3 separate regions of the Homo sapiens genome follow, and regions 1 and 2 are each linked to region 3. Evidence: promoter capture Hi-C in 16 types of primary human blood cells and fetal thymus (Javierre and others, 2016). All regions are on one chromosome and are shown on one strand. The core of a region is centred on a gene start or on the middle of the fragment in contact, and the rest is flanking DNA. Distances in the headings are between cores, read along the strand shown. Region 1 overlaps TRIM62 (tripartite motif containing 62). Region 2 overlaps TRIM62 (tripartite motif containing 62). Region 3 holds the start of ZNF362 (zinc finger protein 362).

Region 1 (4,883 bases), core at 1,543-4,042, 79 kb after region 3:
GACGAACCGGAATCAGAGTTGGGCAAAGGCAGGGCCACTGTCAGACTGAGGGCGAGGTCGCGAGGATGGGTCTGTATTAAACCGGGTAGCTGAGCTCTGGCAGGCTGGGGGTTCTGTGGGGGCGGAGACCGGATCAGATGTGCATCAGGACTAAGAGGAGTACGGGGGCTAGAATGTGCTGGACAGGTGAGGGTGAAACCTAATAGAGTGGTATAAGTTAGGGTGCCAAAGTGCTGAGAGGGCAGGTTTGAGTACCGAGGGTTAGGCCAAGGTGTATGAGGGGTTAAGACTGAGATCAGGTCCGGATACTCTACAACAAGTTTAGATTTAAGCCAGAGTAGAGGCCAGGTTGAGTGGGGCCAGGACTTAAAGGTAAAGATTTGGAGAATAAGGCCCAGATGTAAGGTGATTCAAGAAGGGAGGGGCTAGACCTCTAGGAGTCTCTAGAGGTTTTTGATGACCTCTTTGGCTCTGTCCCCCACATCAGGACTTTTGAAGACTAAGTGAAACGGTACATGCAGAGTGACCTGAGCATAGTTGGCATAGAACTCTAATCGGTCTCCCTTAAGACTTCCTGTCTTCACTGACAAACTCCTACTCAACTTTTATTGAGCCTTGCTCAAATATCCTCTCCGTGAAGCCTTCTCCAAGTTCCACTGGTCAAACAAACAAACAAACAAACAAAAACATTAGAACTGCATTTCCCCAAATGCTCTCTATTAATAAGTGTGGGAAATATAGTATATTTTTTATACCCACCCCCTTGGAGAATTTTCAGTGTGCATTTGCATATTAAAAGCTTAGAGAAATTTTGTTGCAAATAAATCTATTTTACTGTGTTTAATAAAATGGTTCCCAAGCTTACTTGGGCCTGGAATCCTTTTTTCAAGCTAAATCACTTAAATCCAGCAGCCCCATGTACCTGGCTTTGGGATACTAGTCGAGCACGTAGTTCTCCAAGGCCAGAGACAGAATCTTATTTCTCCTATCTATGGCCCCAAAGCCTGGTGCAAGGCCTGGCCCACAGTACACACCAATAAAGGCCAAATGAATGAACGAAAGAATGACCAACCCTGGCCTAAGCTGGACCACACTGTGGAGCGTTTGGAAGCAGAAGGTTTTTGGCTCAAACATTTTATGAAAATGGAGTGGGCTAACTTGGGAGGTAATGAGCTCTCTGGCCTCGAGATACTCAAACAGAAACTAAATAATTACTTTCCCCTGTATTGTAGGGGCTCCCAACCCCTCCACACACTAGTCTTTGAGTAGGCCTGCACCCAGCAGATGCCCATGGGCCTCAGGAGAAATGGCCCATGTTCACCATCGCTCCTTCCCTGTCCCTTTTATCTCAAAACTACAACTGACTCCCTTCCAGTCTAGCTGTCTGAGGATGAAGGCCCCATCAGAGGGTGAGCAAGGGCCTGGGCCTCTGGGAGCCTGCACAAGGCTTGGCCCTCCACCCCCAGAGCCATCGTTTTAGGCGCTGCTGCTGTCCATCTCCCCGTCTATGGAGTCACATAAGCAGGAAGAGTTTGAGGGGACTCTGTCTGAAACCATCTGTCCAACCTCTTCATCATGTAGGAATGGAAAGTGAGGCCTGGAGAAGTTATGTGACTTGCCCAAGGCCACACTTCCAGACAGTGAGAGAGCCAGGGCTATAGGGCACAGCCTGACCCAGATCCCTCTTCTCTGATCTCTCCCCTCCTTGTCTGACCTTCTAGCCTCTGCTTCAGAGCCTTGGTTCTCCTGTCTGCAAACCAGGAAATCCAAATTACTGTATGTTGGGCTTCTGTACTCTATCCCATGACCTGGGGGACACAGGAGAAATTGAACATGTATTACCTACAAATATTATTGAAATGCTTCATTATTGGGTGAAAAGTAAAACAGGACTGCCACTTGCTTACTCTCTAGTGCACTGTTGTGGGGTTGGACATACTTGGGTTCCAAACCTGCTGTGGGCACTGTGTGCACCTTGGTGAGTCACTTCATGTAAACGCTGATGCTCTGTCTGTACAATGGGGTCAGGATGCTTCCTTCCTACCAGGACTTTTGTGAAGCTGACCTGGGATTAACCTGCTATTTGAGGTTCAAAGGCACACAGTACGGGCTGGAATAACATACAGCCCACCTTTTCTCTTTCTGCCTGTGAGAGCTCATGTGCCCAGCTGAGTGAATGCCCAGACTCTCCTCTCTGGCCCGAGAAGGAGGCCTTGCTTTAGTGTGTCCTCTGGGCTTGGCAATTTGGTGGCAGAGAAATCTGCCTCCCATCTAGAGAGGATGTGCTGCTGGGTGAGATTCAAGGCACCCTCCACCCCACCTGCCTCTCCCTCCATATGGGGAAGGCAAGGCTTATTAGCTATTTATGCAGCAGAAATAAGGCTGAACCCACCCTCACATCCCCTTCTCTCCCAGCAGCTGATGGAGCTGGGGCCCTTCTGCAGAATTACAGACTCAGAGCCATGCAGATGATCTGGTGCCACATCCACTTGACAGATGGGGAAACAGGAGAGGGAGAGGGAGGAAGGGAACTTGCCTAAGGCCTCGAAGCCAGAGGAAGCTGGGCCTATACTCAGCTGGAGTCTCCCAACACCCTACCTAGCAGTTGGCGTGCAGCTTTTACATTTATTATAAATCCTTGAGGCATCAGAGCAGAGAAATTAAGAGCCCTGCTTTGTACCCAGGTAATCTCAATCCTGGCTCTACCATTTACTGTGTGACTTTGGGAAGATTATTTACCATCTCTGAGCCTTGGGTCCTTCATGGACAGCATGGAAGTAATTATATTAGGATTAAACAAGATGATGTTTATAAAAACTTAGTACTGCACTTGGCACCTAACAGCACTCAATAAATGACAGCTATAGTAGGTTACATCGTACTCGGCATTATTGACATTTGGGGCTAGATAACTGTTGTGCAGGGCCATCTTGTGTGTTATAGGAAGTCTGGTAGCATTCCTGGCCTCTACCCATTAGATGCCAGTAGCAAACTCCACCCACCCCGCAAGTTGTGACAATCAAAACCATCTCCAAGCATTGACAAATGTCTCCTAGAGTCAAAATCACCTCTAGTTGAGAAACCTGACCTAGAAAAGTCCCACTGAACTTTAAAACTTCAGGTCAAATATCACCTCCTCTGTGAAGCCTTCCCTGACCTACTAAGCACAATTGCTTTGTACTCCAGATTACATCACAGGGGTCAGATCCTGACATGCTGTGTGTCCTTGGTCACGTCACTTTGCTTCTCTAAGGCTCCTTCTCTAAGGTTCATCTATAACAAGAGGATATGATGTTCCTGGGAAGGATGTTGTAAGGGTTAGGGATCCTTTATCAGAAGTGCCTAGTACTGTGCCTGGCATAGTAGGCACCCCAAAACTATTTTTAAATGTCTTTATTCTGATTATAAAATTAACATAAGAAGCAGAGCTGTATAATGTAAAAGTTAAAGTCCCCCCATAATAATACCCCATGAAACATGGCAGGAGTTACTATACAGTTCTAAGGATTTTTATGTAACCTGTGGGTGTGCATGTGCGTGTGTGTGCATGCGTACATGCATGTGTGTGTGCATGTGTGTGCATTTGTGCATGCATGTGTGTGTGTGCATGTGTGTGTGTGTGCGTGTGTGTGTGCATGTGTATGTGTGTTGGTGTCTTCCTCCCCACCTCCACTGCTGAGTACCTGGACCACTGAGCAAAGTGGAGGGAAGGAGCCCATTTCCAAAGAGTTCAGGGCTTCTCAGCCAATATTCATCGAGCCCAGTCTGAATGCCTGGGACTGCACTAAGGGCTTTTCTTGCATTACCTCATTTAATCTTCATAGCACCCTGTGGGATGGGTATTGTTATCTATTTCTTCTACTGATGAAGAAACAGACTCAGAGGAATTAAGTGACTCATTTGGTCACGCAGCTGGTAAATGGCAGGGCCAGGATTGGAAGCCAGTCTGACTAGGCCACATACCGTCCCTGAGCTACCTCTGAGGGCTGGGTAATTGTCTCCCAGCCACCCTGCCTGTCCTGTATTGACAGGGCTAGGCCATCTGTGCCAGCTGACGCCCCGAGGGCAGGTGGTTGGGACGTCATCTTGGTCAGAGCAGACGTGGCATCCGGCTCTCTGGCCGTCTCAGGTTCCTAACCCCCAGAGAGGGGATCCGATTCAGTCTCAGCCGCCCCCTCCAGGCCTCATGTGACCATTGGAGCCCTTCCCAAGGCTTCCTTCATGCCAGAGAAGACAGCAGTGGATCAGCCTTGGACGCAAGCCCTGGTAGGCAGGGTATGGTGATCCAGTGACACCAAGGCAGCCACCCAAGGAGGGAGGGGGCTGGGGGCTAGGTTCAAATTTCGGCTCTGGTTTCTTCCAGGAGAGGGGGTGACACCCTCTTACCCAATCTGAGAAATGGAAGTAAGAACTAGCCCTCCTGCTTTCTGTATAAAGAGAGAGAAAGAGTTGCTAAATATCCAAAGAAATGAGAGATTCAGAGGCACTTTATTTTGTAGCATGGACAGGAAGGCAGCTGGGTTGTCTGTGTTGTGGGGAAGTGGCTCTGCTGTTACTTTTCCAAGGAGAGGGCAGGATTTCTATGCCAACAGCAGCCTCTGTGAGGGCAAAGCTGGCTGTGGGTCAAACTCAGAGCTGGCCGCTGGCATCTCCACATCCCTCTTCACAGGTGTCTGGGCAGCCAGGATACCTTTGCTGAGCACGGGCCACAGTGTAGAAGCTTAGGGCCAACATTGGGGACCCCAAGATGTTTATTTTATAGAAAGAAAAAAGACCTGGTAGGGACTAACAATGATGAAACAATGACTCTATAAAATTATAGCCCAAGTTTTGGAGGCACAAAGTAAGTTATGGGGCACTTACTGTGTGCCAGGTGCTGTGTT
Region 2 (4,620 bases), core at 1,624-4,123, 110 kb after region 3:
ATGTCTCCCCTCTGGGTCTCAGTTTCCTCATCTGTCAAATGGAAGAGTTGGCCTAGAATTCATGGTTTTCAATCTTTTCAGACCCATTGTCTACTTTTCATAACAAATCATGTGTAATATCTCAAAGATAATATAACCTTTTTATAATTTCAAGTGTAACCTTTTCACAATTTCAAGTGTTGTGTGTGTATATGTACATAGATACATACTCTGACTATTAATATGAAGGAAAATAGAAGGAAATTATTAATAATAAAATATTTTGTATGTCAACATGTAGATGCTCACCCACAATCACACTAGAAAACCTAACAAAGCAGCCAGGTCCTCTCGTCATAGGTAAAACACCATCCTGCCTCAAATGCCTATACAGGTAGGTTGTCTCAGTCAGTGGTGTTGCCCTTAGGGATGTATTTTCCAACAAAGCAAACAGTTCTTAGGGAAGTTCCAAACAAAACAAATGCAGCCTTCCCTTCATTTACACAGTGGTTGCATTCTGAAATATTCAGTATATATTAAAACTGCAAAAAAAATTTCATGTTTATACATGAAATGGAGTTAGGTTATAGTTTCTTATCCTTATAAAAAAGATTTTTCATCCACATGAATGTCTGCTGGGACACGTGAAAATCACTGGGAGTCGGGGAAGGTGTGGGGCAGAACTTCCCTTTGCAGAACTGTCCTGTCCATTTCGTGGTCTTTAGCATCCCTGGATCCCAGCTGTTGTTAAGACAACCTGAACACACTCACCAATTTCCCCATTCCCCCTAGGGGGCAGTAGCAACTGGATCATCTGGAAGCTCCCTTCCAGCTCTAAAATTCCCCAATTCTAGGCCTCATTCTGGTTAATTCAACAAACATTTGCCAGTGCCCACTATGTGCTCCGCCCTGGGCATCAGGCAGTGAACAAGCAGCTGTAGCCCCTGCTCCCCTGCAGACAATATCTGGAAGGACCTTAACCACCACCCTTCCATTCTACAGAGGAGGAAGATGAGGCCCAGAGAGGGCAGACTTGTATTCAAGGTCACACAGCAGGTCAGAGGCCTCCTGCGTACCAACCAGAACTCTGCCCTCAGGAAGGCACTGCATGGTGGGTCCACAGCCTTCTCCCCACTCATCTTCTCTCCCTCCTCCAACCCCCACAGTGCCAGCCGCCCTAACCCTGGACCCGGGCACAGCCCACCAGCGCCTGATCCTGTCGGACGACTGCACCATTGTGGCTTACGGCAACTTGCACCCACAGCCACTGCAGGACTCGCCAAAGCGCTTCGATGTGGAGGTGTCGGTGCTGGGTTCTGAAGCCTTCAGTAGTGGCGTCCACTACTGGGAGGTGGTGGTGGCGGAGAAGACCCAGTGGGTGATCGGGCTGGCACACGAAGCCGCAAGCCGCAAGGGCAGCATCCAGATCCAGCCCAGCCGCGGCTTCTACTGCATCGTGATGCACGATGGCAACCAGTACAGCGCCTGCACGGAGCCCTGGACGCGGCTTAACGTCCGGGACAAGCTTGACAAGGTGGGTGTCTTCCTGGACTATGACCAAGGCTTGCTCATCTTCTACAATGCTGATGACATGTCCTGGCTCTACACCTTCCGCGAGAAGTTCCCTGGCAAGCTCTGCTCTTACTTCAGCCCTGGCCAGAGCCACGCCAATGGCAAGAACGTTCAGCCGCTGCGGATCAACACCGTCCGCATCTAGTCCAGGCAGAAGGAGACCACAACCTCCTGGGACCACTGCCACCTGCAAGAGCCCTGCCCAGGAGATAGAAGACCTGGACTCCAGCCCACCGTGGCCACTGGAGACCTCAGGCCAGTTGTTTACCCTCCAGCCTCCAGTCTGTAAAATGGAGGTTGCATTCCCTACTTCCTAAACTCTCTTCCAGCATCGATGTTCTGTAGCTCTGACCTTGATAGGGATACAGCTTTGATCCAAGGATGTGACATGGCTTCTCCTCAGGGCAACCCCTGCCCAACCCTCATCCCCATCTTCTCAGGGGCAGGGGACTACCTTCCAGTGTCTCCCTCCAGCCCAGCCCTGACCTCAGGAAGTGTCAGAGCATGGCCAGTAGTTGGCAGCCCGAAAGACACACAGCACCCTCTTATGTCCCATGGCCTAAGACTTACCCCTGACCAAGCTAGTGATGGGCCATTTACCCTTGACCCCAGTCCACAGTGGTCACAGGTAGTACCTGGTCCTAGGGTTGCCTGAGAGCCAACCTCTCCTGCCACCCCCACACCAAGAACTATATGGTTCCTACTTCTCCCACTGATCTGCTGGTCAGTGATGATGCTGTGGCCTGTGGAAGGCACCTGGTAGTTGAGTCCACACATTATAGTCATGTGCCACCACCTTCCTGCCCACAGGCCGAGGGACAGGGTGAGGGTATACCCAAAGCTGATGCAGAGCCCATTAGCCTAAAAGCAACTGCAGGACAAGCCTCCCTGGATGATCGAGGTCCCCAGTAGCTCTGAACAAGAGTCCAGCCAACCCTCTTCAGCCAGGCCTCTGTGACCTGCTAGGGTGCAGGAGGCTTCCAGAAGCAGTTGTTGTAATTAGGACCCAAGCACTGGGAGGGGCTGTTGGCTGGACCCCTTGTCAGACTTGGCATCTATCTCAGTTAGGATCCTGCTGCAGAAAACAAGAGCCACTTGTAGCTGGTTTAATTAGACAAGGATTTACTACCTGGCCCCTGGTGGCTTGCAAAATTGTTGGAAGAGCTGGAGAAGCAGACTCTGCTGAATTTCCAGGAACTCCCAGCGCCAGATTCATCATGTCTGTTGTGACCAGGAAAGCTGCCCCCATCTGCAGGAAGCCACTATGCCAGAAAGCTGCTGACTGCAGAACTAGGCTCCCTCTGCCACGGTCCGTGCCAGCCAATAGATGTCCTGAGGCCTGCCCCTCTCCCACTTCACTCAGTTCCCAAATCTAAATTTTTACAAGAGATTCTGTTTGGGGGAACTTAAGTCAGATCCAGAACCTTGGCTGCAAGGGAGTCTGGGAAATGTCATTTCCCTAGAAGGAAGTTAGGGTGGGTGGAGCAAGCCCCACCTGCGTTTTTCTGCCACAGCATCCAATCGTGAAGAACTCGGGAGAGGGTGGAGTCCACATCTAGGGTTGTCCTGCCCCTTGGCTCTATCCCTGCCCAGAGGTGGGAACTGGAGGAGTGGGCTGCAAGACTGAGCCTAAATGTCTCCCCGGCCTTGACTTTTCTTTCTAGTCCTGGGGCCTAGATTCTGCACTTGGGGTCTCTGACACAACACACCATCCCAAAGTAGCCGGAAGAGCTAAACACAGGGGGTTCTTAAAATGGCTGCCCCCGCCACCCGGGCCTCCCTTGGGCAAAAGGAATTGTCAGCCCTACCCCAACCCTTCAACTACCAGAATCTGGGCCACCCCAGCAGTATTTTTATTTAAAATGTTGCCCATTTTATGAGTTATGATCAATTTGTATTAAATTAAAGTTACAGATGTCAGTAGCCAGTTCCATTCATTTTGACAAACACACAGGCCCACCCAGCTCTGTCCCAGGCAGTGCACACACATGAGCATAGCTAATCCACAAAGCAGCCCGGCTGGGTAAATGGTATTATGCTCATTTTACAGAGGAGGAAAATTGAGGTTCAGAGAGAAGCCAAGACTTACCTGGGGTCCCATATCCCATGCTGGCAAGTGCCACACCACAAACCTGTCCAAAAACTTACCAGCCAGGGAAGGCTGTCAGTCTTTACCTGGAGGAGAGGTGGTGGTAGTCTTGGGAGCAGGCAGCAGGCAGCTCATGGGGCAGTGGCAAGAGCCTGGTCTCGGGAACCACACAGACCTCAGCTCAAATCCAGGCTCCATCACTGTGTGACTTTAGAAAAATGACCACCCTCTCTGGGACTCAGTTTTCCCACATGGAAGATGAGGATACCAATTTCACATAATTTATTGGTAAGCTGTAAAGTGCAGTGCACTTAAGGAGGCCCTACCCTATCCCCCCAGCTGCCTCCCAGAGTCAGTGCCTGGAGCTGTATGGGTTTCCTGAACCTCTGGGCTGGCTCTGACCCAAGAAGTCTGTCTTTCTCCTTATGGGCTGTGACGGGTATGGAACCACCTAGACCAGGACCATCCTGAGGTCCATCCCACCTCTGACTGATGAGGAAGCATCCTGGCTGGGAGTTAGGACAGGCTCTGCATGTGGACACACAGGCTGTGCACACTTAAGTGGAAAAGACTGTCGACTAAAGAAGAAATATCAAGCTTTTAAAGAATTAAAGTTCACTTTACTTAGAAGTCTTACTGAGTACTATAGACAGGCCTAGAGCCCAGCAGCGGCCCTTTAGAGAGGTTCTATCAGTCGGGCCCAGGACAGTATTTTAGCCCACTGCTTATATACAGGTGGTGGAGGTTTAGTACACGCAAAATCACATCACACTTGCTCAGAAGTAACATTAAAGCCACCGGGCGCAGTGGCTCATGCCTGTAATCCCAACACTTTGGGAGGCCAAGGCAGGCGGATCACCTGAGGTTGGGAGTTCAAAACCGCCCTGACCAACGTGGAGAAACCCCGTCTCTACTAAAAAATACAAAATTAGCCGGGTGTGGTGGCACATGCCTGTAATCCCAGCTGCTCGGGAGGCTGA
Region 3 (4,789 bases), core at 2,246-4,745:
ACCCATGAGAGATTCACAGAAAGTACCCCATTTTAGAGTTGAGGAAACTGAGGCTCAGAAAGGGAAAGAATGTGCTGAAAGTCACAGAAGCCATGTGACACAATGGGACCTAATCTCAGGACCCAGGTCTACCACTGTGATGGTTTATGGAACTCCTTTGGTGTCTTCAAGCTTTCCATTCTCTGAGAGACCTCCCCTGGGGACTCATGGAGGCACTCAGCAAACACTGCCCTGGCTAGTGCTTCATGCACCTGCAGTCTCACCTCTTCTTCCTTGTTGGCTTTAGAGCCCTGGAGGACTACACTTGTATCTCACATGTCTGTCCAGTGTGGGCTGGGTGAGCTAAGGATTGCATAGAAGGACAGATGGGTAGATTACTGAGATGACTAACCAATAAACTAATTAATGGATAATGAAAGAATAAAGGAATGATCTGGCAACAAATGAATGAATAAAATAGCCCGTGGCAGAAGAAGGAATGAATGGCTCCTCATTTTACAGAGAGATAAGACAGGAAAGTGTCTGCCCAGGGAAGGGCTAGGGCCAGCCTGGCTTCAGACCCGGTCCCCACCTTACCCACACACCTGCTTCCTCCTTTCCATGTGGGACCAACTTGCCTCCACCCCCCAAGACTGCAGATAGCCTATTCCTCAGTCCCTGGGATAAGTTCATGTCTCCATGGAGCGCTGGCCGTTATTCCATGACACCATCACCAGCACCACCATCCACTAGCAATTCCTGCCATCCTGGGGCCCGTGCAGCCTGGCAATGGGTAGAGGGGCTCATTGTCCCTCTGAGTGTCACAGAGGAAGGGAGGCAGGAGATCAGGGTCTGGTTCTGAGACCCAAATCACTGACTTCCAGCCAGTAGCTTCCCCTCTCTGAGCCCAGGTGACCTCCTGACATCTGAGCCTTTTCAGTCTGACATTCTTTGGGTGGGGTGGGCCTCTGGATGTTTACACAGTCACTGGGTTCAGCAGAAGAATTAGAGAGTCCAAAACCTAGAAGAGTCCTTCCCACAGCACCAAAGTCCACCTGGGAAAAGGCCAGGCGAGGAGCCTGCAGGCCTGAATTTAAGCCTCCTCTGCCACTGTTCAACCTCTCTGAGTCTTGGTTTCCTTATAATGAGGTTCATAATCCCCATTAGGACAATTTAACCCTAACTGAGTTTCTGGGAGAACCTGATGTGATAATCACCACACCATACTGTGAAAACTGTGAAGTTCAATTCTCTCAGGAAAGATTATGATGGCGGGGGTAGGAGGGGGTGAAGGGATCGTGCTGTCCCATTCTAGTCCAGTTCTGTTCAAAACGGATCTTCCAGGGGTCCAGGCCCGTCATGGAGAACAGTGGAGGGAGCCCAGCAGTGGAAGCCTGAACACCCAGGTCCCGGTCTCAGTCTCCTTCTACCTGGTAGCGTGACTTCAGGCAAGTCACTTCCTCTCTCTGGACCTCAGTTCCTCCATCTAAAAACCACCTGGCTTGGTACCCTCTGGCCAAGACATGCCATGTTCCACAGCCCTGAACCCCTAACCCCAGCTTTCAACCCCCGACTCTGGCTTCTGGGAGCTCACTCTGTCTAGTGGAGCCAGGACACAAACCAGGAGTGAGACTAGAAGGGTCTCCCCTCCAAGAAATGCTGGGGTAGGGGACACATGAGAGGCTAGGCCCAACACTGCCCCAGTGCCTTGGACAGCACCAGTCACCCCAGACCTTGTGGGCCTGGCCTTCAGATCCCCCTCGGCAGCCTGCGGAGCCAGCAGGCCCTGACCTGTCCAGCAAGATACTTCAGGAACTTAACCGAAGTCCAAAGTGCTTCTACCTCCCGGGCGTAGGGCAGGAGTGGCAGAAAGGAATAAGAGCATACTACAGGGGTGAGGCTCACACCGAGGAGGTCTAGCAAACCAGACTACCTTTCCTGCCCCTTCCCTCAGACGGGACCCACTGGGCCGCAGGCCTGCACCCAACCAAAAGTTCATCATAGGGTGGGGTCGGGGAAGACATTACCACCAGCTGCCACCTCTGGGGGCAGGAGGACCACCAGGTTGGGGAGGGGGCTCTCCAACTGCAAAGGGCCAAGCTCACTTGCCTCAGGGTCCAAGGGTCACCCCAGGGCTTGGGCGAGATTCCAGCCTACACGGGGGGTCCTGGCCACCCATGAAGGAGACAGGCCCACTGCCACACACACAGCTCCCGAAGGTTCCACACTGCTCGAGGGCAGGGTGGTGGGACAGCAGGATTATTTCCTCATGCCAGGGGTCTTTGCTGGAAATCCTGGACCCATTCTGAGCCCCTCTTGCCGGCCCTCTCCCCCAGATCTGAGGATCTAGCTCCTTACAATGCCATGTTTATAGAGCCCCTTCCAAATAAATGTTTCCCAGTTCCCCCAAAACTCCCATCCTCAACCCTCCACATCCGCCCCCCCACCCCCATCCCGCGCAGCTCTGAGGAAACCGGCAGTTAACTTTTCCCAAAAATCCTGCAAAGGCAGCTGGCTGGGGGAGAAATGGGCCTCGAGATCCTTTCGCGGCATTTCACCGCCTTCCAAAAAAAAAAAAAAAGAAAGAAAGAAAGAAAGAGAAGCAAAGCAAAGCAAACTTTCGGAGTTAACTTTAAATTCCCAGCCCTCCCCCCTCAAATCGCCCGGCAGCTTCCCTTTTTTTTTTTCTTTAAAGTGCAATTGCATTGTGTCTCACCTCCCCGAAAGGCTCGCGGCTCTCGCCAAAGAAAAGGAAAAAAGCCAACCCTTCGGGTGCCCCCTCTGCTTCCAGCCGCCTCTCCCACATTCTCAGACAGTTTTATTAAAATTTTCAGACAAAAGAAAAACAAAAATGGCAGCCTGGCTTATTTTTAAAACAGGACAGGGACGCCATATTCTGCAGATCTGCAAAAAAAGGGAGAAATCCGGCACTGGCTGCTCCACCGGGCCGGCTGCAAAGTGCGCGAACCGCGCCGTTTGCAATCCGTTTATTTGCATTATGCCCCATGAATCATTGTTTACCGGAGAATTGCAGCAGGGTTTGAATAGCCCGGCTTAAGAAAACACACACACACGCGCGCGCACACACACACACGCACACACACTCGGAGACCAGCCCCAGACACGCCGCGGGAGACACTTCCTACCCCGCGCGCCCCGCTGCCGCCGCCGCCGCCGCCGCTCTGGGCCGGGCCCGAGGCGCAGGCGGCCCCGGGCCCTCGGAGCGCCCCGGCCCGCGCTGACAGCGCCCGCGCCCCGGCCCGGCCCCCGCCCGCAACTCGGCGCAACTTTCCCGCGGGCAGGCGCCCGCCGCCGCTGGGCCCGCTCCCCGCGCGCCCCGGGCCCGCACGGACCTGGCTGTGCTGGCGGCGCCTCCGGGACGCGGCCGCAGCCCCGCGCCCGGCGGCCCGAGCAGGGCCGGGCTGGGGCTCCGGCACAGGCTCCGGGCTCGGGCTCCGGCTCTGGCTCGCTGCGGAGCCGCGCGCAAACCTTCCGGGTCGCCTGCTGTTCACTTCTGGGTTCTGCAAGCGCCGAGGCGGCGGCGGCGGCGGCGGCGGGAGGCTGGGTCTGCAGCGCCGCGCGGCCCCCAGTGCGCTCGGCGAGCCCCCGCGCCAGGCGCCCGGCTCCGGGGGGGCCGCGTCGGGCCCCCGCCTCTCCGGCTGCGCAGCCCGTCCGGCCCCGGGGGCTCCCGCGAGTGGGCAGCGCCGGGCGCTGGCGACTGCGCGAGAGGGGAGGGGGCCGGGCGGGGGGCGGGGGCGGGCCGCGCGCTGGGGCCCCCACTCGGGCCCCGGGGCCTCGTCTCGCGCTCGCCGTCGCCGCCGCCGCCGCCGCCGCCACCGCCTGGCAAAGTTGCGCTGCGCCCCCCGCCCGCGCCGCGCCGGAGGCAGAGCCACAAAGGAACTCCTCGCCCCCCTCCGCCCGCCTGAGCCGCGCGGGGAGGGCACCGGCGCCCGGCCCTAGGACAGCCCCTTCCCCAGCGCGGGGGCTCCCGGGGCCCCGGCGGCCGTGGCCATTGTCCTGCCCAGGCCCGGCGGCCGCCTCGCCACCCCACTCCTGGGTGATGGCAGGCTGGGGACTTGGGCCTGGCGGGCCACGGCCCTGACCAGGCCGAGCCCGCGCGGTGCCAGGCTGCCCCTGGGGGTCTCCCTCGAAGACGGCCGCCTGGAGGGGACCCCCAGGATGGACCCTCACCCCTGATAACGACCTGCTCAAAATCCAGGCCGATTTTTTTTTTAAGACGAGGACATAGGGGTGGGGAGTAGAAGTTTGCACAGGCCCAGCCACCCCTCCCTAGCCCTAGGCCGGATCCCCGACGGATGGGGCGGCCCGAAGCTGGCAGTGGCTCCTCTCGCAGAGTCTATCAGAGGTGGCACCGGCTGTCCCCCGGCTCCAGACCTCAGAGCCATCTGTGTGACTCCTCCTCCCGCCTCACCCTCCCCAGCCAATCAGTCACCAAGTCCTCCTGATTCGGCCTCCCGAGCTGTGTCAGCTTCCAAACTTACACTTCTACCTGAGGAGGCAGCCGGTTCCAGGATCCCTTCACCGGCTTAGATTTCTATGGCATCCACCACCCCCCGACCGCTGGGCCAGGATGGATCAGGGCTGGCCCTGCCCTCAGGGAGCGCACAGTCCCCCGGGAAGGGCACAGAGATAAACAATCATCTGCCAGCGTTTGTCCTCCAGGAAGCATTTCCAAATTCAGTAAATATTCATAGAGGACCTAGTAAACATCAACCACTGTTTTTAATAGCTGGTTGGCTGGAGCACAGCTATTAAAAAACTGGATAATGCCCCTGCCCTCACGAAGATT

The links. The method cuts DNA at HindIII sites, captures the fragments that hold promoters and counts their contacts. A CHiCAGO score of 5 or more calls a contact.
Region 1: a contact is called between a fragment that was not itself captured here and the fragment with the promoter of ZNF362 in region 3, in 6 of 17 cell types (total CD8 T cells, total CD4 T cells, naive CD4 T cells and 3 more). The highest score is 6.8, in total CD8 T cells.
Region 2: a fragment that was not itself captured here is called in contact with the fragment with the promoter of ZNF362 in region 3 in 1 of 17 cell types (naive B cells); the score reaches 5.5 in naive B cells.

Annotation. Positions count from the first base shown.
Region 1 is chr1:33,175,791-33,180,673 of GRCh38, reverse strand. All of the region lies in intron 1 of TRIM62 (tripartite motif containing 62), which reads left to right. It also overlaps a transcript of ZNF362 not described here. Among named protein-coding and RNA genes, the nearest start is that of TRIM62, 3.8 kb to the left of the region's middle. RefSeq lists enhancers at 1-108, 2,208-2,377 and a cis regulatory region at 2,292. The HindIII fragment of the contact is 3,860 bases long and covers 863-4,722 here.
Region 2 is chr1:33,144,253-33,148,872 of GRCh38, reverse strand. It overlaps TRIM62 (tripartite motif containing 62), which reads left to right. Exons shown (of 5, transcript NM_018207.3): 5 at 1,146-3,474. The coding sequence ends at 1,696. It also overlaps a transcript of AZIN2 not described here and a transcript of ZNF362 not described here. Among named protein-coding and RNA genes, the nearest start is that of TRIM62, 35 kb to the left of the region's middle. The HindIII fragment of the contact is 2,733 bases long and covers 1,507-4,239 here.
Region 3 is chr1:33,255,198-33,259,986 of GRCh38, reverse strand. It overlaps ZNF362 (zinc finger protein 362), which reads right to left and starts at 3,495. Exons shown (of 9, transcript NM_152493.3): 1 at 3,333-3,495. RefSeq lists an enhancer at 2,745-3,039 and silencers at 3,505-3,564, 4,007-4,106. The HindIII fragment of the contact is 6,922 bases long and covers 174-4,789 here.